5 separate regions of the Homo sapiens genome follow, and all the other regions are linked to region 3. The links are contacts of gene promoters, found by promoter capture Hi-C in human tissues and cell types (Jung and others, 2019). All regions are on one chromosome and are shown on one strand. Each heading gives the region's core, a stretch centred on a gene start or on the middle of the fragment in contact. The rest is flanking DNA. Distances are from core to core; before and after follow the strand shown. Region 1 overlaps HIRA (histone cell cycle regulator). Region 2 overlaps LOC105372859 (a long non-coding RNA gene). Region 3 holds the start of CLDN5 (claudin 5). Region 4 has its middle 20 kb from the start of SEPTIN5. Region 5 holds the start of TBX1 (T-box transcription factor 1).

Region 1 (5,273 bases), core at 391-2,890, 160 kb before region 3:
GGTCTGCAGGCTGGGCCTGAACTGGGCAGGACTAAGCAGGAGGAGAGGTCCCACGTGGTCCAGCAGGCTTGCCCCACAGCTGCCATGTCACTGTGGGAGAGGCTGTGCCGACACCCCTTAGCCCTCAGCTGGGCAAGCCACCTGCCTTGAGGGGAGGGACAGAGAGTGGGAGCCTGTGGAAGCATCTGATACACAGGTGCCTGGGACTGGGAATTTAAATGGCTCATCTGGAGGGGGAATTTGAGGGAGGAACAGAACAAACAGTGGGGTCCCCTAGGCCTAAAAACACAAAACTCACTCAGGGCCCACGAGAATTGTGGTCTAAGACCTAAGGCCATGTGCTTTGACACAAGTAAAAGCATTTACATGGGACCTCATGGCAGATGATTAAGGGTGTAATTATGATGACTGTATCTGGTCCTGACTGGGATGCTACATCAGACAGGAACCTGAGGAGAAACATTGGTTCCCCTTCCACATTGAACACAGGTAGGGACAGGGCTCACGTACAGTTCTAGGAACCCAGGGGAAGATACTGGGTGACTAATCACTGAATCAAGGTCCCCCTCACAGTGCAGAATCTGGCATGGGCTGGGATGGGGACTTCAGGGACAGTCAGAAATCCATCCTGACCAACTTGGATGGAAATCTGGGATCCAAAAAAGGAACCAGCCCAGGTCAAGGTGAGCCAGGCACACCTCAGTGTGGAATTCGAGACTTTGGGGATCTGGCTGGACAAGGGAATCAGGCCATCAGGTTCAAAGCTTGGCCTGGGTAACCCTCAAGGGCTCAGTTTCCCCATCTGTAACACGGGGATACTGATGCTGACCTTGCTGGGTGCTGCAGGGACTGAGATGACAAGCACATATGCTTGGCCTGGAGTGAAGCCTGGTGTGAGTCTCTGTGGGAGCTGGTGCTCCCAGGGTCATGCACCTCCCCTAGACAGGCCCAGGCCCAGAATGATGGCATGTGTGCCTGTGTCACCTGGGCCGGCTAAGGACCTGCCCACCCTTACCAGCTGCCCGCAGCAGTGAGGATCCGGCTGGTGAGTACCGTCTCCCACTCCTTCCCTTCCCGGTTGCACTTCAGGCGGCTCAGCTTCACGCCCCCCACCACTGTCACTTCATTCTCCACCTCAATGTACATGGAAGGATCGGAGCTGACCTGGATGAAGTAAACACACGGGTCTGCTCAGACAAGGGCCGCAGCCCAGGTGACATGCTCCAAGGCTCTGTAGCCTGGGGCCCCAAGGCAGCAGCAGGATACAGAGGCAGACTGGCTGGCCAAGAGAGGAGAGGGAGGGCAGGTAGGGCAAAGGGGCTGAGCGGGAGGCCCAGAGGGCCAGACATGTGGCCCCCAAGGCAGGGAGAATGCTGGGAGCTGGTTTCTACCCTGTCATTTGTGTAGTTGAACAGCCAGAGAAGAGAAGCAGTGCCAGGGTTAAAGACCCCAAAGTCTCCCAACCCTGCCACTTCATCTCACAAGGGAGTAACGTGCCCAAAAGCACACTGCAAAGGACCGAGCTGGGAGTGAGACTTGGGTTTCTAGCCTCCTACTTGAAGAATCTTCAAAGATGGCAGTGTTTGGCAAGATTAGAGACCATGTCAGTGCTTGGAGGGAATGTTTAGAAAACCCCCAAAGGGGCTCTCCAGTTCCTGTGGTGGTGAGACTTGGTCTGCTCAACTGAGACTAAACTGGCAGGGGTGTTTATGGCACAGCATGTATGAAAAGCACCTAATTCAGTGTCTGGCACCAAATGGGCTCAGCCACACGCGTGTGTGGGGAGCTGACCAACAGATTTTCCCTGTGGTAAAATAGGCAGAACCACCAAACAGTCTGTGCTTGTGTGGCCACTCAAGTGGGTGAGCTGGGCCGAGGGCTGACTGCCCCCTTCACAGACCCAGAAATGACAGTCCCAAGCAGTGCTTGGAGGGCAAGATGCCTAGGGGAAGGGCTGGAGGAGTTTGGGAGAGTTCTGTGCTGAGAAGCAGGGCACCCAGGAGGGAACCTAAGTCAGAACACCTCTGAGTGCAAGAGCACGTCTGAACGCTGCTGACCACTGGAGGGCCCCTGCCTCCGTTCACACCAGCAATAAGAACAAACCCTATGGGTTCCTACCCTTTGGCTTCCCTGCTTCATTCCTCTGCACTGTGGCCCAGAAGGACCTATGGTAGGAAGGGCTGACGCCTGCTCTCTGGTGCCCTGTGAGGACCAACCTGGGCTCAGAGCAGTGTGTAGCCAGTGGGAAGTGACCCGCAAGCAGGGTCCAAGAAGGCTGCTCGAGGACACGCACCTGAGCTGAGGTACAAGGGTATGCAGAGAGGCAGCAGTGTGTGTGACGGCACCATGGCAGGAGAGGCCTAGATACTATGCTGGGCCAAGTGACCAGGAGGGCTCTGGGTATAAAGGATTATTTACTCCAGAATTGTGTTTTGGATAACCACATGCTTACAAGCTTCCATTCCAAGAGCTCAAACAACTCTGATGATTGACTGTGCCAGACACTGAGAAGACAAAGCTAGCAGGATGGTTGGGAGATAGATTATGACCACACATTCCCACAGACACCAAGCCTGAGGCTGCCCAGGGCTGTGTGTGGAGGTGGAGGTGGCTTCCAGCCAGGACACCTGAGAGGAGTCCTGAAGAGCACCAGAACATGTGGTGGTAATGGCAGCCCCAGCAGCTGGAATCCCAAGGGCAAAGCCAGACAGAGGCTATGGGTGAGTGAGAGTGGAGGCTGGCAATTTCGCTAAGAGTTGGTGGGTACCCCGATCTGCTATGACTTCTCCCAGAAGGTGATGGAGAGCCACTGGAAACCAATCTCCAAGGAAGTGACAAGATAGGATTTGTATGCAGTAGGGGACAGAGAATGTCTGGGTGTGCCTGAGGGAGAACTGGCAGGGTCCTAGAACTTACCTGGAGGGTGAATGCTCTCTGGGGGCTTGGAATTGGCAGCTTCAGTGCAAGTGCTGGTGCAGACAGACACATGGCCTCCTTCTCTGCGGTTAGGGCAGCTGGAGACTGGAAGAGCCAGAAACGTTCCTGAGCCTTGCTCTAACACTACGGGGTAGCATTTGGTAAAGGCAGGTCACCCAGAAGTGAGGCTGAGCCTGCGACCAGAGCATTTCCACCCTGGGAGGGAGGAAGCAGAGGGGAATGCTACAAGGATCCTAACCTCATGGACAAGCCAGTTGATGCCAGGGAACCTGCTCAAGGGCCCTGGGTGAGTCAAGGGCACATCTGAGGGAGAGCGTGGCCTCCATGCTACATTCCAGGGGCTGCATGTCTAAGCCAGCTGGTTCCCAAGGTGACCCACCCAGCTGAGGCTTACCATGCACACAGGGCCTTCAAGCTCTAAGTACAGAAAGGTGGGCTAAAGAAGGCAGGATGGGCCCACTGGCCTCACCTGGACAGACAGAGACACAGGCATGAGACGAGAGTCCTTCCGAGGCCGCCCTTTCTTCTTCTTCTCTACTGTCTCTACCTCAAGCTCAAGTTTTCGCTTGGACAGTGAGGAAGCCTTAGCCAAAGGGACTTTCTCATCGCTGTCACTGCTGCTCTCCAGGAGGTCTCGGGGCCTCAGCTCTTTCACAAGGTTCTGCTCTTTTAACCTGCACAAAAACATTACATCACACTTCCCTTCAGAAACCATTCATGCAAGAAAGAGTGAAGTGAAATATTTAAAGTGCTTAAACAAACCTCTTGCCAACCTAGAATTCTGTGTCCAGTGAAATTATGCCTCAAAAGTAAAGGAGAAATAATGACTTTGTCAGACAAAAATAAACAAAGAGACACCGGAATCTGTTGCCAGAAGACCTGCCTTGCAAGAAATGTTAAAAGTCTTTCAGAGAGAAGATAAATGATGCAGGCCAGAAACTCACATCTGCATGAAGAAAGGAAGAGTGATGTTAGAGAAAAAAAACAATGAACATAAAATAGAATCTTTTGTATTTCATATTCCCAACTGATCTGAGAGACAACTTTCTGTTCAAACAAATAACAGCCACCATGTCTTGAATTACTATAGTTTATGAATGAGTGAAATAAGTGGTACCAATGTCATAGGGCATGGAAGGAAAGAGTGGGGAACTCTTTCTACTACCCATGAAGTGGTATAATATTATTTGAAAGTAGAGTTAGGTTATAAATGTTTATTGTAAACTCTAGAGCAATCACTAAAAAAAATTTTTTAAAGCATAATTAATAATGCTGAGAGGAGAGAAAATTTATTTTTATTTTATTATCATTTTTTTTTTGGAGATGGATTTTCACTCTTCTCGCCCAGCCTGGAATGCAATGGTGTGATCTTGGCTCACTGCAACATCCACCTACTGGGGTCAAGTGATTCTCCTGCCTCAGTCTCCCAAGTAGCTGGGATTACAGGTGTGTGCCACCACGCCTGGTTAATTTTTGTATTATTAGTAGAGACAGGGTTTCATCATGTTGGCCAGGCCAGTCTTGAACTCCTGACCTCAGGTGACCTACCCGCCTCAGCCTCCCAAAGTGTTGGGATTATGGTCGTGAGCCACCATGCCTGGCTGAGAAAACTGAATCATATAAAATACTCAGCTAAAACCAGAGAAGGCAGAAAAAGAAGATAAAAAGAAGTGAAGATTAAAAAAAAAGAATAAGGCCGGGCACGGTGGCTCACGCCTGTAATCCCAGCACTTTGGGAGGCTGAGGTGGGTGAATCACCTGAGGTCAGGAGATTGAGACCGTCCTGGCCAACACGGTGAAACCCTGTCTCTACTAAAATACAAAAAATTAGCCGGGTGTGGTGGCGTGTGCCTGTAGTCCCAGCTACTCGGCAGGCTGAGGCAGGGCAATTGCTTGAACCCAGGAGGCAGAGGTTGCAGGGAGTCAAGATCGTGCCACTGCACTCCAGCCTGGTGACAAAGTGAGATTCCGTCTCAAAAAAAAAAACAAAAAAAACAAAAAAAAGAAATGGGTTTATGTTTTTAAAAATTTAATTTTAACTACAAAAGACAAAGACAGATTAATAGTAGGTGGACACAGTGGCTCATGCCTGTAGTCCCAGCTACTTGGTAGGCTGAGGCAGGAGGACTGCTCGAGCCCAGAGGCTTGAGAGCAGCCTGGGCAAAATAATGAGACCCCATCTCTAAGAACAAAAAATAAGTAAATAAATAAATACAAGAAAAGGGGTGATTCTAACTATATGACAACCTGGAACAGGCAAAACCATGGAGACAATAAAAAGATCAGTGGTTTCCAGGGGTTGGGGAAAGGAAGGTAACTATATGAAGCACAGAATT
Region 2 (4,804 bases), core at 963-3,462, 200 kb before region 3:
CAGGCTGGAGTGTAGTGGCACGATCTCAGCTCACTGCAACCTCAACCTCCTGGGTTCAGGCAATTCTCTTACCTCAGCCTCGCAAGTAGCTGGGATTACAGGCACGCACCACCACACCCAGCTGATTTTTGTATTTTTAGTAGAGAAGGGGTTTCACCATGTTGGCCAGGCTGGTCTTGAATTCCTGACCTCAGGTGATCTGCCTGTCTTGACCTCCCACAGTGCTGGGATTACAGGCATGAGCCACCGTGCCCGGCCTGAGCCACTGCCCCCAGCCGGCTCATTTCTTATCATTGAATAATATTCCAATGTATGAATGTGTCAGTTTGTTCATTCACCAATTGAGGGGATATCTTGATTTCTTCCAGTTTTTGCAGTTTTGAATAAAGCTGCTATAAACATTCATGTGTAGGTTTTTATGTGTATATAAGTTTTCAACTAATTTTGGTATATACCTAGGAGTGAAATTGCTGGGCCATATGGTTAGGCTATGTTTAGCTTGGAAGGCACTACTAGATCATCTTCCAAAGTGGCTGTATTCTCAAGAGCAATGAATGAGAATTCCTGTTTTTCTATGTCCACATCCTTGTCAGCATTTGATACTGTCAGGTTTTTGGATTTTAGCCTATCTAATAGGTGTATAGTGGTTTCTCATTGTTGTTTTTGTTATTTATTTATTTATGTATTTATTTTAGAGATGGGTTCTTACTCTCTTGCCCAGGCTGGAGTACAGTGGTATGATCATGGCTCACTGCAGCCTCAAACTGCTGGGTTCAAGAGGTCCTCCTGTTTCTGCCTCCTAAGTAGCTGGACTACAGGCATATGCCACCATGCCCAGCTAATTCTCATTGTGTTCTGAATTTGTAATTCCCTAATGACATATGATGTAGAGCGTCTTTTCATATGGTTATAGCCATATGTATATCTTCTTTGGTGAGCTCCGTTCAGATATTTTGTCCATTTTTAAACTGGAATGCTTATTTTCTTATTTTTGCATTTTGGGAGTTATTCGTATATATTGGATACAAATCCTTTATCAGAAAAGTTATTTGCAAATATTTTCTCCAAGTCTGTGGGTTTTCATTCTCTTAGCAATGATGTTCTCAGAGCAGCAGTTAAAAATTTCTGTCTAGATTCTTTTTTTTATGTTTGCATGTGTAAAATGCAAAACTTCCTGAGTAGAAGGGACTACAGGTGCATTTATTAGAGCAGTATTTATTGAAAAGACTAATATTTTTCTATTGAATTGCCTTTGTTCCTTCATCAAAGATCAGTTGATTTCATTTGTTTGGGTTTATTTATGGGTTCTCTACTCCGTTCCTTTACCAATGTCACACTGTCTTGATTACTGTAGCTTCATAGTAAGTCTCAAAGTTGAGTAGTGTGAGTACTCTGGCCCTGCTTGTCTTCAATATTGAGTGGGCTATTCTGCATCTTTTGACTTTCCATACAAACTTTAGAATTTGCTTGTCAATATCTGCAAAATAACTTGCTGGAATCGTTATTGGAATTAAATTGAATCTATAATTGGTAAGCGCTAACACATTAATGTTGAGTCTTCCTACCCATGAACATGGAACTTATCTCCATTTATTAATTTAGATTTTTTATTTATTTCATCAGAGTTTTGTAGTTTCCCTCATATAAAGCTTGTATGTATTTTGTTAGATTTATACCTAAGTATTTTGATTATTTGGTGTTTATGTAAGAGGTATTAAATTTTCAATTTCAAATTCCAATTGTTCAGTGTTGGTTAAAGAAAAGCAATCAACTTTTGTATGTTAACCTTATATCCTGCAATGTAACTATAATAACTTACTAGTTCTCAGAGTTTTTTGTTGATTCTTTGGGATTTTGTACATAGATAGTCATGTTATCTGCAATTTTTTATACTTTATTTCCTTCTTCCTAATTTTTATACTTTTATTTCCTTCTTTTGTCTTATTGTATTAGCTAAGACTTCTAGTACAATATTGAATAGGAGTGGTGACAAGAGACATCCTTGCCTTTTCCCTGATATTAGGGGAAAAGCATATAATTTTTCACCATTAAGTAGTGTATGATGTTAGCCATACATACATACATAGTGGAATTATTGTAGATGTTCTTCATCAATTGAGAAAGTTCCCTTCTATTCCTAGTTTGCTGAGAGTTTTTATCATGAATAGGTGTTAGATTTGTCAAATGCTTCTTCTAAATGTATTGATATAATCATGATTTTCTTTTTTAACTTAATTGATGTGATTGATTACAATAACTTATATTCAACCATTAAACAAGTATGCATATCTGGAATACATCCCATTTGGTCATGTTGTATTTTTTTCATACAATGTTGGATTTGATTTGCTAATATTTTTATCATGGATAAAAGGGGCATTACTATCGGGTAAAATTCAGCCCCCGATATTTCACCTGGGTCCTTTTCTATTTTCCCTAAGTGTTGGCTGGTCTGAGAAATAAAGGGAAAGAGTACAAAAGAGAAATTTTAAAGCTGGGTGTCTGGGGGAGACATCACATGTCGGCAGGTTCTGTGATGCCCCCCAAGCCGCAAAACCAGCAAGTTTTTATTAGTGATTTTCAAAGGGGAGGGAGTGTATGAATAGGGTGTGGGTCACAGAGATCACGTGCTTCACAAGGTAATAAAATATCACAAGGCAAATGGAGGCAGGGTGAGATCACAGGACCAATGCGAAATTAAAATTGCTAATGAAGTTTTGGGCATGCATTGTCATTGATAACATTTATCAGGAGACAGGGTTTGAGAAAAGACAACTGGTCTGACCAAAATTTATTAGGCGGGAATTTCCTCATCCTAATAAGCCTGGGAGCGCTACGGGAGACCGGGGCTTATTTCATCCCTTATCTATGCCCATAAAAGACAGACGTCCCCAAAGCGGCCATTTCAGAGGCCTCCCCTTAGGGATACATTCTCTTTCTCAGGGATGCTCCTTGCTGGGAAAAAGAATTCAGTGATATTTCTCCTATTTGCTTTTGAAAGAAGAGAAATATGGCTCAGTTCCACCCGGCCCACAGGCAGCCAGACTTTAAGCTTATCTCCCTTGTTCCCTGAACATTGCTGTTATCCTGTTCTTTTTTCAAGGTGCCCAGATTTCACATTGTTTAAACAATTTGTGCAGAAAACGCAATCATCACAGGGTCCTGAGGCGACATTCATCCTCAGCTTACAAAGATGATGGGATTAAGAGATTAAAGTAAAGACAGGCATAGGAAATCACAAGGGTATTGACTGGGGAAGTGATAAGTGTCCATGAAATCTTCATAATTTATGTTCAGAGACTGCAGTAAAGACAGGTGTAAGAAATTACAAAAGTATTAATTTGGGGAACCAATAAATGTCCATGAAATCTTCACAATTTATGTTCTTCTGCCATGGCTTTAGCCGGTCCCTCCGTTCAGGGTCCCTGACTTCCCGCAACACATTACATCACAGTGGAAAGTGAGATAGTAAAGGAATATTATGAAGTACTCTATGCTCAAAGGGGGCATGATCCCTATGACAAAGGGATCCATTCTTCGAGAAGACATAACAGGCTGGGCATGGTGGCTCATACCTGTAATCCCAACATTTGGGGAGGCCAAGGCAGGAGGATCATTTCAGCTCAGGGGTTCGAGACCAGCCTAGGCAGTGTAGTGAGATCCCATCTACAAAAAAAAATTTAAATTGGCCTGGCATGGTTGTGCCTGCCTGTAGTCCCAGTACTTACGAGGCTGAGCTGGGAGGATCACTTGAGCTTGGAGGGTAAGGCTGCAGTGAGCTGTGGTCACACCACTGCACTCCAGCCTGGGTGACAGAGTAAGACTGTCTCAAAAAAAGGGGAAAAGACATGAAAATTACTATATTTCACTGAAGATTTATGAATTGCAAATAAGCACATGAAAAGATGTTGAACATCATTAGGTATTACGGAAATGCAAACTAAAGTTACACCTGTCAACATGGCTAAAATTAATAGTGACAACAAATGCTGGTGAGCATGTGGAAAAACTTGATCACTCATCCATTGTTGGAATGTAAAATGGTACAGCTTTGTGGAAAATACTTTGTCATCTTGAAAAAAACTGCACTTGCAGCTACCATAAGACCCAGTAGTTGCCCTCTTGGGAATTGCTTCCACAAAATCAAATGCTTATGTTCACACAAAAAATTTAATATCAGGGCTTAACTGTAATCACCAAAAATTGAAACTAGCCCTGATGTCCTGAGCAGATGAATGGTTAAATCAACAGTGCAGCAAAACCATGAAATACTCATTAGCAATAAATAAAAACTAATGAAGTAATAATATACACAACAACTTAAATTAACTCCAGATAATTATTCTGAGTGAAAAAAAAATCCAGTAGGTTAGGTAAGCATGACATTGACATAACATTGTTGAAATCAGGAAATTACAGAAATGGAAAACAGATTGGTGGTTAGCATGGGTTAAGAAAGTGGAATGGTGAAAGGGAAGTGGTGTGGCCATACGTGAGCAACACAACCCCACTTAGGTAGAATACACATCTTCTCAAGTAGACAAGGAACATTCTCCAGGGTACAGCATATGCTAGGTTGTAAATCAAACCTTAGTAAATGTAAAGGATAGAAATAATACAAAGTATTTTTAAAAACACAACGGAATACTATTAGATCAATAACAGAAAGAAAGTCGAGAAGTTGGGAAACCCACAAAGGTGTGGAAATTTAACAGCACACTCTAAATGACCAATGGGTCAAAGAAGAAATCAAGAGGGAAATTAGAAAATACTTTGTGGGCCGGGTGCAGTGGCTCACGTCTGT
Region 3 (4,889 bases), core at 943-3,442:
AGGGGCCAGCACTGACTCCCAGGCCACACAGCCCCTGGAGGAGGAAGGTTACCCAGAGTGCCCCCAGCAGGGGCTGGCACAGGTGCTGGTTGTGAGCACCATTCTGGGCAGGCTGCCAGGCCAGCAGGGTGGGTACAGGCTCTGTAGGGAGCTGCGCTGGGACTGGCAGAGGAGCCAGGACGAGGGGCTAGAGCCAAGCTGTGGTACTCCAGGCAACCAGCTGCCAGCACCTCCTCCCATGGCAACCCTACTGTTGACCGGCGTGTCCTGCATTCACCCCTGTTCCTGCCCCACCCACCATTGGAAAGGGCCTGGTCGGGGATTCTACAGACCTCTGTGGCCACTTGATGGGGCTTGGGACTAGGCAAGCCCTGAGAGGGCAGTGGAAAACCTCACCCTGTGCTGTGTGGGGCTTGGCCCTTTCTGGGAGAAGCCAGCGGCCTGGCTGCTCACCCCCAGCACTTCCCACACCGCAGGACCCCCACTCACCAGCCTGTGTTGAGGGCGCTTCACCCCGCATCTTCTGCTGGGGTCTGCCGCTGCCCCCGCCCCTGTCCCATCCCGGGCCCCAGGGCCCCATGACGCAGCAGCTCTTCTGACCGCAGATCCCGCCTTTCTGGGCTGTAGTAAGTGGTGGCTGTGTCTCCCACCTGGTGGGAAGGTGGCAGGGAGGATGGGGAAAAGAGCCCCAGCCTCCAGCCCTGGGAGGAGGTCTCCACAGGAGTCCTTGGGAGGGCGGGGCTGGTGGGTGATGAATGGGGCTGCTGGACACGGAAGATGGCTGGACAGAGAACAGGACACAGGTGGGAGAGAGTTCAAACCATTTACTAAGCAGATTCTTAGCCTTCCCACTCCCGCCCTCTCTCAAGCTCCGGTGCCCACAAGCCTTGCCTGGGGAGATGCTGGAGTGAGACCGGGAGGTCCAGGCCAAGTCACTGGTCCCTGGGCTCGGGCCCTGCCGATGGAGTAAAGACCAGCTGTACACATCTTCCGGTGGGGGCCCTGGGCTCTGCATCCGCCCCTCCGAAGTCAGCAGGAGCCTCTGGGAAGTAAGGCAGCAGCCAAGACCCCCAGCGTCTTGGAGGGGAAGCGAAATCCTCAGTCTGACACCCGCTCTGCCTATGGAAACAGCGCCGCGCACAGAAAAGGAAACTTCATTCCGTCTGTTAAGGGCAGGGCCGGGCTAGTGGCAGGAGAAGGTCAGCTGCGGGCGCAGGCAGGAGCGGATCCAGGAGCCGCGTCGGGGCGCAGAGCCGGACGTTCCGAGGAGCCTGCGCGCCGCGCTACCCGGCGGAAGCCGCGGTCCATGCGGGGCTCCCCAGGCTTATCCAACGCCTCGCAGGCGTGGCTGGCAGGAGGGGCCCGGCCGTGCCCAGCGCCCTCAGACGTAGTTCTTCTTGTCGTAGTCGCCGGTGGCCGTGGGCCGCCGCGGCGCTGAGTACTTCACGGGGAAGCTGAGGTCGGGACGGCCGGTGCAGACCCAGGCGCCGCAGCACAAGAGGCAGCCGCCTACCATGAGCAGCGCGGTGGCCGCCCAGCCGATGTACAGCGCTGCGCCCAGCTCGTACTTCTGCGACACGGGCACAGACGGGTCGTAAAACTCGCGGACGACAATGTTGGCGAACCAGCAGAGTGGCACGAGCGCCAGCAGCCCGCAAAACAGGTAGAGCACGCCTCCCGTGAGGGCCACACGCGCCTTGGCCGGGCCCGGGGCCACGCAGGTGGTGCACTGCGCGCCCGCCAGGGTCACGAAGAGCGCAACGAACGCCAGCAGCACGGCGCTCACGGTGAGCGCCCGCGCCGCCTGCACCTCGGTGCTCAGAGCCAGCACCGAGTCGTACACTTTGCACTGCATGTGCCCGGTGCTCTGCACCACGCACGACATCCACAGCCCCTTCCAGGTGGTCTGCGCCGTCACGATGTTGTGGTCCAGGAAGGCGGTCACCTGCCACATGGGCAGCCCGCACGCCAGGATCAGACCCCCCCAGCCCACCAGGCACAGCACCAGGCCCAGGATCTCCAACGCTGCGGACCCCATGGCTAGAGGCGAGACGCGCACCCGAAGGCCCGCAGAACCCCCAAGGCCGTGCTGCGCGGCGCCCTGGGCGGGCCCTGGTGCCTTTGCGCCCGCGCTCCCGGCTCTTGGCCCCAGTCCGTTTGCCCCGCGGGTCTGTCGCACCTCCTGGGTCTGCCAGCTCCTGCCGGGGGGTACCCTCTTTGAAGGTTCGGGGGCGGATTCTGTCCCCCGGGCCCGGCCCCCCGGCCCGAAGCAGCCAATCCGTGCGCGGGTCATCGTGCCGCAGCCAATCACAGAGCCTCTGGCAGCTGAAGTTAGGGAAACAACGGCTCTTGAGGGGTAGCTGAGGGCGCGGGACCGCTCCCCGCCCGGCAGCCGCCCCCAGCCCCACCCGCCGTTGTCCTAGTCGCGGCCGAGCGCATTCTGGGCTGGCCTAGGGCGCGCTTCTTGGGCCGCCTCCCTGCGCGTCCCGGCCCCGTCACTTCAGAAGGCGCTCGACCCCCAGTCTGCACCACCCAGTCCACTCCCACATCCCCGACTGAGCCGGGTGGTCTCTTCCACTCGAGCCAGCTCCACTTCCCTGACCAAGGTTTGCAGAAGCCCCCCACCCCGTCACCGCCGTAGAGGCCCTCGTAGGGGGGCTCTCCAGAAAGCCCGCCCCGGGGTCCAAGCCCCACCCAGGCCCTTTCTCGCACTCTCACTCTCCAGCCCCGCTCTGAGTCCCAGCACTGTCTCTCTCATCCCATGGCAAACAGAGAGGCCAGGCAGGCGTGTGGAGGTCAGGCCCAGGGCCCCAGCCTCACCCCCCATGCCACTCACTGCCTCTCTGGAGCCTGAGTCTCTGGCAAAAAGCGGTGGCACAGGGGCTTTCCCCCTGCCTGGCGACCCCCACTCTCCCAAGCCGCAGGGGCTTCCCAGACCTCTCAATCTTCACAGGGGCTGCTCCTCTTCCTGCGGTACTGCCCGCACCCCATCCTTGGGGGCCCAGTTCAGGTGACACCACTTCAGGAAGTTCCCAGTGACCCAGCACACTGGGTGTAGCACCCAGGGGCAGTGGTGGCCCCAGGCCTAGCAGCCTGCTCTGGCCTTCAGACAGGAGAGACAAAGGGACACGGAGGGGCTGTGCCCTGCCCTCCCACCAGTGGCGATGGTGTCCCTGGCACCCCAGCCCCCAGGCCACCCTCCGGAAGCCAACTTGGAGTTTCCTGGCCAGGAGGAAGAGCCCCCATCCTTGCTGGAGGAGGGAGGCGCGGGATTTCCGGGCATTCTTCTGCACAATGGCCCAGCCATTTCTCGAAAGGTCCACTGGTGTGGACACTCCGGGCCCCCTGAGGCTCAGGTGGGGGCACGCGGCTCCAAAACCCACAGCCCCATGGGGGCACCAGCCCCTTTCTAGTAGTTCTTTCCCCAGTCTCTCTCGGCCCCTTTGTTTCCAGTAAAGTTTGAACTCCAGGCCCTGGACTGAGGCCACTGGGTGCCCAGTTCTTTTATCTGGTCTGTGCTCAGTTCCATTGGACAGGGCCCTCCATAGAAAAAGTATGGCACTGAGGCTGGTCACAGATGTGGGAGGTTTGATGACTTTCTCCCTCCTGGGGCCCGGTTCCCTTCTCCCCCTTCAGATGGCTCTGAGATGGTAAATGAGATAAGGCCAGCGTCTGGCTCACCTAGTGTGGGGAGGTTCTGAAGGCAAGTGTGCCCAGCCCTGAGGCTGGAAGGAAATCATACCCTCTTTGCTCAGCCCCACGTGGCCTCTCCCCACCAGGTATGGCTCTGAGGACCACTGCCTTCTCCCAGCTATCACTTTAGTCACTGCCTTCCTCCTGCTGCAGACCCATGGGCCATGCCCCTTCCTCTACAGACCCTCCTGGACATCTCCTCCTCTGTGTACTCCAGGGGTACAGCTGACCCACCCACCCTCTCACTCTTACTACCCCCTAACCCAAGCCCAGGGAACTTCCCCAGATCCCCCTACTCCCAGCCCTTCCATGCCACCATCTTCCTGGGATGACTGCTGCGGCCTCCTCAGGTCATCAGGGACCTGCCCTTGCCCAGCTAGGCCACCCACCCCACCAGGCCCCTCTCCTGGGCCTCACCCTACCTAAGACCCTCCATGGCTCACATTGCCCATGGACGAAGAGCCGACTCCCAGAGCAGCTGGATTGATGTGTACCTGCATGCGCTAGGACTGGCCAGTCCAGCCACCAGTCTTGGTGCGGCCCTGAGCACACACTCTGCCCCAGGAGACTTACCTGCCTATGGGCCTCACATGGGCCGTCTCTTACCTTGGCCTCTTCTGCCCGCAGCGTGTATCTGTCAGGTTGGGTCCTGCTCATCTTCTAAGATGTGTTGCCGAGGTCATTTCCAGGAACACCTTGCTGCACCGTCCCCCAGCATTGCTTTTAGAAGCTTGAGCTGGACCTGTCCTTTTGCTTGCCGACTTTCCCACCTAGTATCCAGGAATAACCTCCACAGGGTGGCTGTCTTCATGCGTCTGTCCTGCACAGGAGGCTGCCTGTTGCCCTCTAGCCAGCTTGGAGCTGCAGCCAGCCCAAGGCTCTCCCTTCTCACCTGGCTGCCTGTTTTTCTTCTCTCCTAGCTGTCACCCTAGGGTGGCCCCAGCAAGCTCATGTTTCTTTGGCGGCAGCCTCACAGCATCTCAGGGACGTGGCAGAGGAGTCTCAGGCTTCACCTTTCACAATCTGGTTTCTACCCTGACCCCACTATGTTGGTCGAGGCCCCAGGCTGCAGTGGAACAATGCCAATGCAGAGAGGCCCAGAGAGGGCCGCAGGGGCTGACGCCACCCCAGACAAACCCACCTCAGATGGAGGCTGGCCTCTGAGTAGCCCAGGCCAGACTCCGGAGGGGCATGAG
Region 4 (5,133 bases), core at 1,327-3,826, 170 kb after region 3:
TGCCGACATATTAATACACCCGGCAGCACTCTAGGCCCATTGGCCTGCAACTTTTCATTTGATTGATTTTTAATTATTTACTTTTTTAAAAAATTGTAGTTAAATATACATGACATATATTTACCATTTGAGTCTTTTTTTTTTTTTTGAGATGGAGTCTTGCTCTATCTCCCAGGCTGGAGTGCAGTGGTGTGATCTCGGCTCACTGCAACCTCCACAGCCTGATCCTGGGTTCAAGGGATTCTCCTGCCTCAGCCTCCCGAGTAGTTGGGATTACAGGCGCCTGCCACCATGCCTGGATAATTTTTTTTTCTTTTGAGACGGAGTCTTGCTCTGTCACCCAGGCTGGAGTGCAGTGGTGCAATCTCAGCTCACTGCAAGCTCCGCCTCCCAGGTTCACGCCATTCTCCTGCCTCAGCCTCCCGAATAGCTGCGACTACAGGTGCCCGCCACCACACCGGCTAATTTTTTGTATTTTTAGTAGAGACAGGGTTTCACCGTGTTAGCCAGGATGGTCTCGATCTCCTGACCTCGTGATCAGCCTGCCTCGGCCTCCCAAAGTGCTGGGATTAAAGGCATGAGCCACTGTGCCCGGCCTAATTTTTGTATTTCTGTAGAGACAGGATTTCACCATGTTGGCTAGGCTGGTCTCAAACTCTTGACCTCAGGTGATCTGCCCTCCTCGCCCTCCCAAAGTGTTGGGATTACAGGTGTGAGCCACAGCACCCAGACCATTTTTAAGTGCACAGTTCAGTGGTATTACATACATTCACAGTGTTGTATAATCGTCACCACCATCCATCTTCAGAACTTTATGCATCTTGCAAAACTAAAACCTGCCCCCATTAAACAGCAGCCCCCCTCATCCCCTGCCCCCAACCCCTGGCAACCCCTATTCTACTGTCCGTGCCTATGAACCTCACTACTCTATGCACCTCACATACGTGGAACCACATGGTATCTGCCCTTTCGTCGCTGGCGTCTCTTAGCATAACGTCCTCAAGGTTCATCGGTGTTGGGGCACGTGTCGGGATTTTATGGTGTGTGAATGACGTCTCAGTTTAAAATGTTCTAGAGTTACCCAGTGGTGATGGATACACAACTCTGAATATGCCAACAACTTCTGACTGGTACACTTTGAGTGGGTGATTGTATGGTCTTTGAATTGTGTCAATAAAGCTGTCATTTAAAATAAAATACCAATCCGTGCTGGCACAGAGAAGGACTGGGAGACTCCGGGCAGTGCGCAGGCCCCTGTGTCTAGGAGAGTGAGGGGCCTGCTGACCTCGTCCCGGGCAGGCGTCCCAAGAGTCTAAGTTCCAGGCCTTAGGTCTCCTTACGTGGGTCTTGTGCGCATGGCTCAGGTGGAGTGGCGACCTGAACAGTCGGCACTGCTACGTGAGGACGAGTGTGGCCCCAGATGGAAGGCCTGAGCGGAGGCAGCAGGGATGAGGGTGGCATGGGTGTTGTTATGCACTGATTTATGTTCTCCCTTCCAAAACTCCACACCAAAGCCCTCACCCCCAGGACCTCCGAATGTGTATTTGGAGGTAGGGTCCTTAAGGAGGTAGTTAAGTTAAAATAAATTCATGAGGGGGTAGGTCCTGATCCCATATGACTGGTGTCCTTCTAAGAAGAAATTGGGACACAGACATGTACAGAGGGACAACTCCGGGAGGACTCAGGGAGAAGGTGCCACCCGCAAGGCAAGGAGAGAGGCCTCAATCGGAACCAGCCCTGCCCACACCTTGATCTTGGACTCCCAGCCTCCGAGACAAGACAATAAATGCCTGTGGTTAAGCCACCGGTCTGCAGTGCCTCAGGACACAGACACAGGTGGTGATGAAGCCAGGCGAGAACATTTTGAATGCATCTAGGGATAGAATCGGCAGGACTTGCTGATGGATCCAATGCAGGACAAGTAGGTGACCCTGAGGATTTTATTTGAGCAAATGGTGCAGTCACCAGTCAGACGGGGGACCCCCGGGCAAGCACAGTGCAGTTTCTTTGCAGGTGCATCCATGAAGGGTGTGATGCCTACCAGACATTCAGGAGCTGCAGCCAGGTGGGCAGCCCACAGGGGAGTCTGGGCTTCTGGGAGGAAGATGCAGAGCCGTCCTGGACAGGGCAGCAGCAGCACCAGCCTTCACTGGAGCCGGGGCCTGCAGCCTCCATTGGTGGCACACCCAGGTGAGGTCTTCACACTGCCTACACTAAAGCAAATGAACAACAAAAATCATGAGAGACCCTTGGATCAGTTTTGCACGGGAGAAGTCATTTCTTTCTTTTCTTTTTTTTTTTTTCAAGATGGGGTCTCACTCTGACACCCAGGCTGGAGTGCCGTGGCGCGATCTCAGCTCACTGCAACTTCTGCCTCCCAGGCTCAAGTGATGCTCCCACCTCAGCCTCCTGAAGCTGGAACCACAGGCATGCGCCACCACACCTAGCTGTTTGTTTGTTTGTTTTGGTAGAGACGGGGTTTCGCCGTGTTGCCCAGGCTGGTCTCAAACTCCTGAGCACAAGCGATCTGGGATTACGAGTCACTGCGCAGGGTGGGGAGAAGTCATTTCTATGCGCCTCGGGGAAGCAGTGTGGACAAGGCCCGCAGGGCCCTGCTCTTGGGCTGATTCCCTTGAGGGAGAGCCTAATGTGTAAGTGAAAAATGAAATGTGCAGGAGAGCCACTGGTCAAGCAGCAGTGCTGGGGCAGCAGGCCCTGTCGGGGATGCCAGCAGGCTCAGAGCACAGCCAGGAGGAGCCGGCCTCCAGACAAAAGCACATTTGCTAAAATAACTTTGAGAAATTTTTTAATGTTTTTCAAATTTTTACCGAAATTTAGAAAAATTTCCTCTAAACTTTGCTTAAACCGTGCTAAAAAGTGGGGACAAGCCTGAACAAAGGCCTGACACCAGCAAAGGTCAGCGAGCAGTGCAGAAGAGGCGGGAAATATTGCCAGGAGGTGGCCAGGCAAGGAGAGGCGAGGGAGGTCCCCAGAGCGTCTCCCCACCCCCGATTGGACCCAAGGCACTGGGTAGTTTGCCGAGGGCAGTGCAGCCACCTTGGGCCAGGGTCCCAGCCGCTTGCCCTCTGTCAGGAGTTGCTTTCTTTTTTTTTTTTTTTTTTTTTTGAGACGGAGTCTCGCTCTGTCACCCAGGCTGTAGTGCAGTGGCTCCATCTCGGCTCACTGCAAGCTCCGCCTCCCGGGTTCACGCGATTCTCCTGCCTCAGCCTCCCGAGTAGCTGGGACTACAGTTGCCCGCCACCACGCCCGGCTGATTTTTTGTATTTTTAGTAGAGACGGGGTTTCACCGTGTTGGCCAGGATGGTCTCCATCGCCTGACCTCGTGATCCACCCGCCTCGGCCTCCCAAAGTGCTGGGATTACAGGCGTGAGCCACCGCGCCCGGCCAGGAGTTGCTTTCTTAGGTATCTCCTTGGATCATGAGTTTCAGCGAGGAGGGGTCGTCTGCACAGGAAACACGCCCCGGCCGTTGGAGACTCGCTGCTGCCCCCACGAGGCACTGCTCCTTTGGAGTGAGCTGGCCAAGCACAACACAGAGCCTGCTCCCCAAACTGGGCGGGACAGCGCCAGGCCTACAGTCACCACGGAATGTGCTCTCTCACTCAGCGCCTCTCCTGGAGCCTGAGATGGCTCCATTCAGCACTGCAATCCTCCCAGCGAACCCCAGCCAACCCAAACAGCCTTGTTTGTGCGGGGCTCTGTTTCCCAGTCAGGATACAGGGCAGCAGGGCGGGAAGGAGCCTCAGCAGCTCCCCAGCAGCACACACCACCGGCCTGGCTTCCCTGCTCTGTTCGGGAATCTCCTCCCCCACACCCCCCGCAGCCCCCAGCCCCCCAGGAACACTTCCCCAGTGGGCTCTAGCCTCACCTACACAGCCCCCACCAGACCCCTGCGCCCGTGTCTCAGAGGCTGTCACAGAGACAACCGATGGCCCTGCCCATCATCCAGCTGGTCACGCCGATGCCTCCCCCACCTCCCGCACCACATCTGGTGCCACACAGCTGTGACCAGGTGTGACTGTACACAGGGATGGCCCCCATCCCCTCTCCACTGTCAGTGCCCTGGCCCCAGGCCTCTGCTGTGCCTTTGGGGAGTCCTCCCACTGCCCACTCTGCTGTCCAGAGACAGACAAATATACATTATCCAGTCTGTGACAGAGAGATAAAAGATTCACTAAAATTGTTTAAAAGGATGAGATTCTGCAGATTGTATTTTTCAAAGATGGCCACAACACTTCCTTCTATCCCACATGCTCTTCCAGAACCCTGATACTATCTGTGAATCTCAGTGATCTCATTCCCTTATAAACCATAGAATGCCACAGAACTGATGCTACAGAGCTCCTGAGGCTGGGGCGCAAGAGATAATGCAGCATCTGCCTTGGGTGCCAGAGCACTATGCACAGAGACTTGGGGCCACCATGCTTTCAACGTTGCCAGGCTAGCCCACCTGCACAGAGGTAGTTGCCAGGCTAGCCCACCTGCACAGAGGTGGTTGCCAGGCTAGCCCACCTGCACAGAGGTGGTTGCCAGGCTAGCCCACCTGCACAGAGGTGGTTGCCAGGCTAGCCCACCTGCACAGAGGTGGTTGCCAGGCTAGTCCACCTGCACAGAGGTGGTTGCCAAGCTAGTCCACCTGCAGAGATAGTTGCCAGGCTAGTCTACCTGCAGAGATGATATAAGACTTCATGGAAAGAAACATGTCCAGCCAGTTGCTCCAGCTCCAGCCACTGTCTGCCTGGAATGGCATGAACTACCCAGCTAAGATATCCTGAATTCCTGACCCCCAGAAACCATGATAGATAGTAAGACTAAATTGCTATTTTAAGTCACTAAGTTTTGAGTTGTTATGCAGCAATAGATAATGTTATGCAGCATTTCATAACAGAATAAAGTGCACAGAGAGACCCACAACATGTAGCCAATTGATTTTCATCAAAGATGAAATTGGCAATTCAATGGGGAAAGTCAAATATTTTAAACAAATAGCACTCAAACTATTGGATAAATTGGGAGGATGAACTTTGACTTCTACCTAACACCGTACGCAAAAACTAATTCAAGGTGGGGCGCAGTGGCTCAAGCCTGTAATCCCAGCACTTTGGAAGGCCAA
Region 5 (2,830 bases), core at 3-2,502, 240 kb after region 3:
CCCTCACCAGCCTGGGGGCCCAGCTTGGAGATGGGCACTCAGGTATACACAGGCCCGGAAGAGGGCGAGTGAGGCTGGGAAGGAGAGCAGAGGTGGCCGTGAGCCTGGAGAGGGGGGAGGAAAGTTAATAAGAGAGGAGAGAGCGGGAGAGTTTCACAGAAGGAGAGAAAGCCTCGAGGAAGCCGTGGAGACGAAATTGAGCAAAGGGGAGAAAACACAAAAAACCCAAAGAAGAAGGTAGGGGAGAAACAGAAGGACACGAAAAGGCAATAAAAAGCAAGAGCGAAAGAGAAGAGAGAAAACGAAGGGAAAATTTAAGACAGAAAGCGAAGTCATAAAAAAGAAAAAAAGGAAAGACTTTAGTTTTTTTTTTTTTAAAAAGAAAAACATAAAAAACAAAGGACATACAAAAATAAGAGGAAAGGCACCGACTAAAAGAAAGACAAAGAATGATTAAAAATAAAGTGAAAAGGAAGGCGAGGATGGAGGAAAAGGGGAAGAGGCGGAAAGTAAAACAGAAATAAAGAGAAACTACAGAGATAGGGGAAGAAAAAAGATGATCGGGAGGGAAAATTTAAATGAGGACGACAAAGGTAAAATAACAAATTAGGAAAAGAACGTCTGGGAGAGAGAGAGGAGAAACGCACGCGGGCGGGCGGCAGAGCGAGGGCCGGCCGACGGGCCCGGCGCACCGGTGAGCCGGTCCGGGCGGTCGGGGGGCCCCGGGCCGAGCGAGCCGCGGCGGGCGGGCTGGGGGCCGGGGAGGGGGAAGGGGCGGGGGAGGGGCGAGGGCCGGGGGAGGGATCTAGTCCATTGTCTCCGCGCGGGGGTGGGGGGGCCCCGGGCGGGGCGGGGCGGGGCGCCTCCTCGGGGCCGGCCTGCGGTGTGGGGCTGCACGGCCCGGGGCGCACGCAGCGCGGCGCCCGCCACTCGGCCCGCGGCGCGGGGCAGCGCTCAGCTTGGTGGCGGGGGCGGCGGCGGCGGCCCGCGGGTCATGATCTCCGCCGTGTCCAGCCCGTGGCTCACGCAGCTCTCGCATTTCTGCGACGTTGCAGCCTTCACGGCCAGCAGCCTGAGCAGCCTGGGGGCCGCGGGGGGCTTCCCGGGCGCCGCGTCGCCCGGCGCCGACCCGTACGGCCCGCGCGAGCCCCCGCCGCCGCCGCCGCGCTACGACCCGTGCGCCGCCGCCGCCCCCGGCGCCCCGGGCCCGCCGCCGCCGCCGCACGCCTACCCGTTTGCGCCGGCCGCCGGGGCCGCCACCAGCGCCGCCGCCGAGCCCGAGGGCCCCGGGGCCAGCTGCGCGGCCGCAGCCAAGGCGCCGGTGAAGAAGAACGCGAAGGTGGCCGGTGTGAGCGTGCAGCTAGAGATGAAGGCGCTGTGGGACGAGTTCAACCAGCTGGGCACCGAGATGATCGTCACCAAGGCCGGCAGGTCAGGGCGCCCCTCCCCACGCCGCGACCCTCCCCACGTGCTGCCGCCAGGGCTGCGGGCCTCCGCCTGATCCGCGCGAGCGGGGCCGAAAGCCGGGTCGGGGGCGCGGCCTGGCCACCTGCGGGCCCCTCTGGGCCCCGCTGCCTCCTTCGCTGTTCGCCGTCCCGGCTCCGGCGACAGCCGCCCGGCGCTCCCCTCCTAACACCTATCCTCCGCCGGGGCGGGAGGAGACGGCGCGGGCCGCACGGGAACGGCGAGGAGCCCCGCGGGACTCGCCCGCCCGCCCCGCAGCCCCAGGACGCCGCGCGGCCCAGAAACCGGCCCGGCTTGGGGCGCACCCGGCTGGGGGCAGGCAGCGGCGTCCAGGGGGCCTCACCGCCCGGCCGACTCCTAGTAAATCCCACCTCAAGAAAACTCTGGTTCAGTTCTGGAGTTCAGTCTATGCGGGCAAGATAAAGAGCGGCAGCCGGGCAACTCTCTGGACACTTTCAGGAGAGGATTACCCTTAAAAACAGCGTGCACTGTTGCGTGGAAGTTGCTACCCAGTTTCCTTCAACCTAGATCCCTATAGTTGTGGGGCCTGGCTCTGTATCCAGCGGCCCGTCACCTCCCAACCGGCCTGTATTTGTTTTAAAGACCAAGAGACAAGGGGAACAAGTTTTGCAGATGCACCCGATTTGACCGGTAGACAAAGGCGGGTGCCGCGCTGTGTCTAATGTACACACCAGCTCGGAGTCCGAACAGCCAAGGGGAGCTCAGGGCCTGTTTGCAAAGCCTTCTCGTGGTTTCTGTTTCCCTGCTGCCGGCGTCCTTTCTGAGGAACCTGGGCCTGTGCTCTGCTCCAGCTCTGTGGTTTTTTTCCAGGCCCTCCTTGCTGTCCCCAGGCACACAGGCCCTCCTGAGGACAGCGGCAGCCCAGCCGCTGGCTCAGGCCAGCCCGGCAAGGGCCTTGTCGGCGCTGGGCTTCACCCGGGAGCCCACGTCCCGCAGCACCCTCCAGCCTGCAGAGGCTTCGGGTGGGGGAGGGAGCGGGCCTGTCCTAGAGGCTGGCTCCTGGCATCTGTCTTCTGCCCACCGCCTGCAGGGAGTTGCTTGTGAGGGGAGGCAGAGGGGACGGCAAGTGAGGGCCAATCCTTGTGTTGTCCTGAAGGGCCCCACGGCCACTACTGCTGTGCCATCATGTGGGGGTAGCCCATGGCCTACACCCGTCCAGGCACTGCAGAATGTCCTTTCAAGAGCCCTGACTGGTCACTGAGCCAGGGTCCAAAGCGGGGGAGATTTGAGGAACAGGAAAGACACAAACTGAGTACACTCTGGGTAGCTGCGTCTTGGGGTTATGTGTCTTAAGGGGAGTGGAAGCTTGCCCTGTGCCCTGAGGAAGGTGGGGAGACTCTTATCA

Evidence for each region. Contacts are between HindIII fragments. The study calls those that stand out against the background at their distance.
Region 1: a fragment that was not itself captured here is called in contact with the fragment with the promoter of CLDN5 in region 3 in 2 of the 25 tissues and cell types used here (dorsolateral prefrontal cortex and spleen).
Region 2: a contact is called between a fragment that was not itself captured here and the fragment with the promoter of CLDN5 in region 3, in 4 of the 25 tissues and cell types used here (dorsolateral prefrontal cortex, lymphoblastoid cells, spleen and 1 more).
Region 4: a contact is called between a fragment that was not itself captured here and the fragment with the promoter of CLDN5 in region 3, in 4 of the 25 tissues and cell types used here (H1 embryonic stem cells, IMR-90 fibroblasts, dorsolateral prefrontal cortex and 1 more).
Region 5: a fragment that was not itself captured here is called in contact with the fragment with the promoter of CLDN5 in region 3 in 2 of the 25 tissues and cell types used here (dorsolateral prefrontal cortex and mesendoderm cells).

The regions. Positions count from the first base shown.
Region 1 is chr22:19,358,321-19,363,593 of GRCh38, forward strand. It overlaps HIRA (histone cell cycle regulator), which reads right to left. Exons shown (of 25, transcript NM_003325.4): 16 at 3,407-3,611; 17 at 2,917-3,021; 18 at 1,016-1,164. Among named protein-coding and RNA genes, the nearest start is that of CLTCL1, 69 kb to the left of the region's middle. The HindIII fragment of the contact is 5,675 bases long and covers 1-4,478 here.
Region 2 is chr22:19,317,490-19,322,293 of GRCh38, forward strand. All of the region lies in intron 1 of LOC105372859 (a long non-coding RNA gene), which reads left to right. Among named protein-coding and RNA genes, the nearest start is that of CLTCL1, 28 kb to the left of the region's middle. The HindIII fragment of the contact is 4,176 bases long and covers 125-4,300 here.
Region 3 is chr22:19,522,218-19,527,106 of GRCh38, forward strand. CLDN5 (claudin 5) reads right to left here and starts at 2,193. Exons shown (of 1, transcript NM_001363066.2): 1 at 810-2,193. The coding sequence starts at 2,038. The coding sequence ends at 1,382. RefSeq lists an enhancer at 1-808. The HindIII fragment of the contact is 10,668 bases long and covers 1,963-4,889 here.
Region 4 is chr22:19,692,379-19,697,511 of GRCh38, forward strand. No RefSeq gene overlaps it. Among named protein-coding and RNA genes, the nearest start is that of SEPTIN5, 20 kb to the right of the region's middle. RefSeq lists an enhancer at 1-150. The HindIII fragment of the contact is 5,757 bases long and covers 1-5,133 here.
Region 5 is chr22:19,759,850-19,762,679 of GRCh38, forward strand. It overlaps TBX1 (T-box transcription factor 1), which reads left to right and starts at 929. Exons shown (of 7, transcript NM_001379200.1): 1 at 929-1,431. The coding sequence starts at 995. RefSeq lists an enhancer at 1,984-2,683. The HindIII fragment of the contact is 5,066 bases long and covers 1-2,830 here.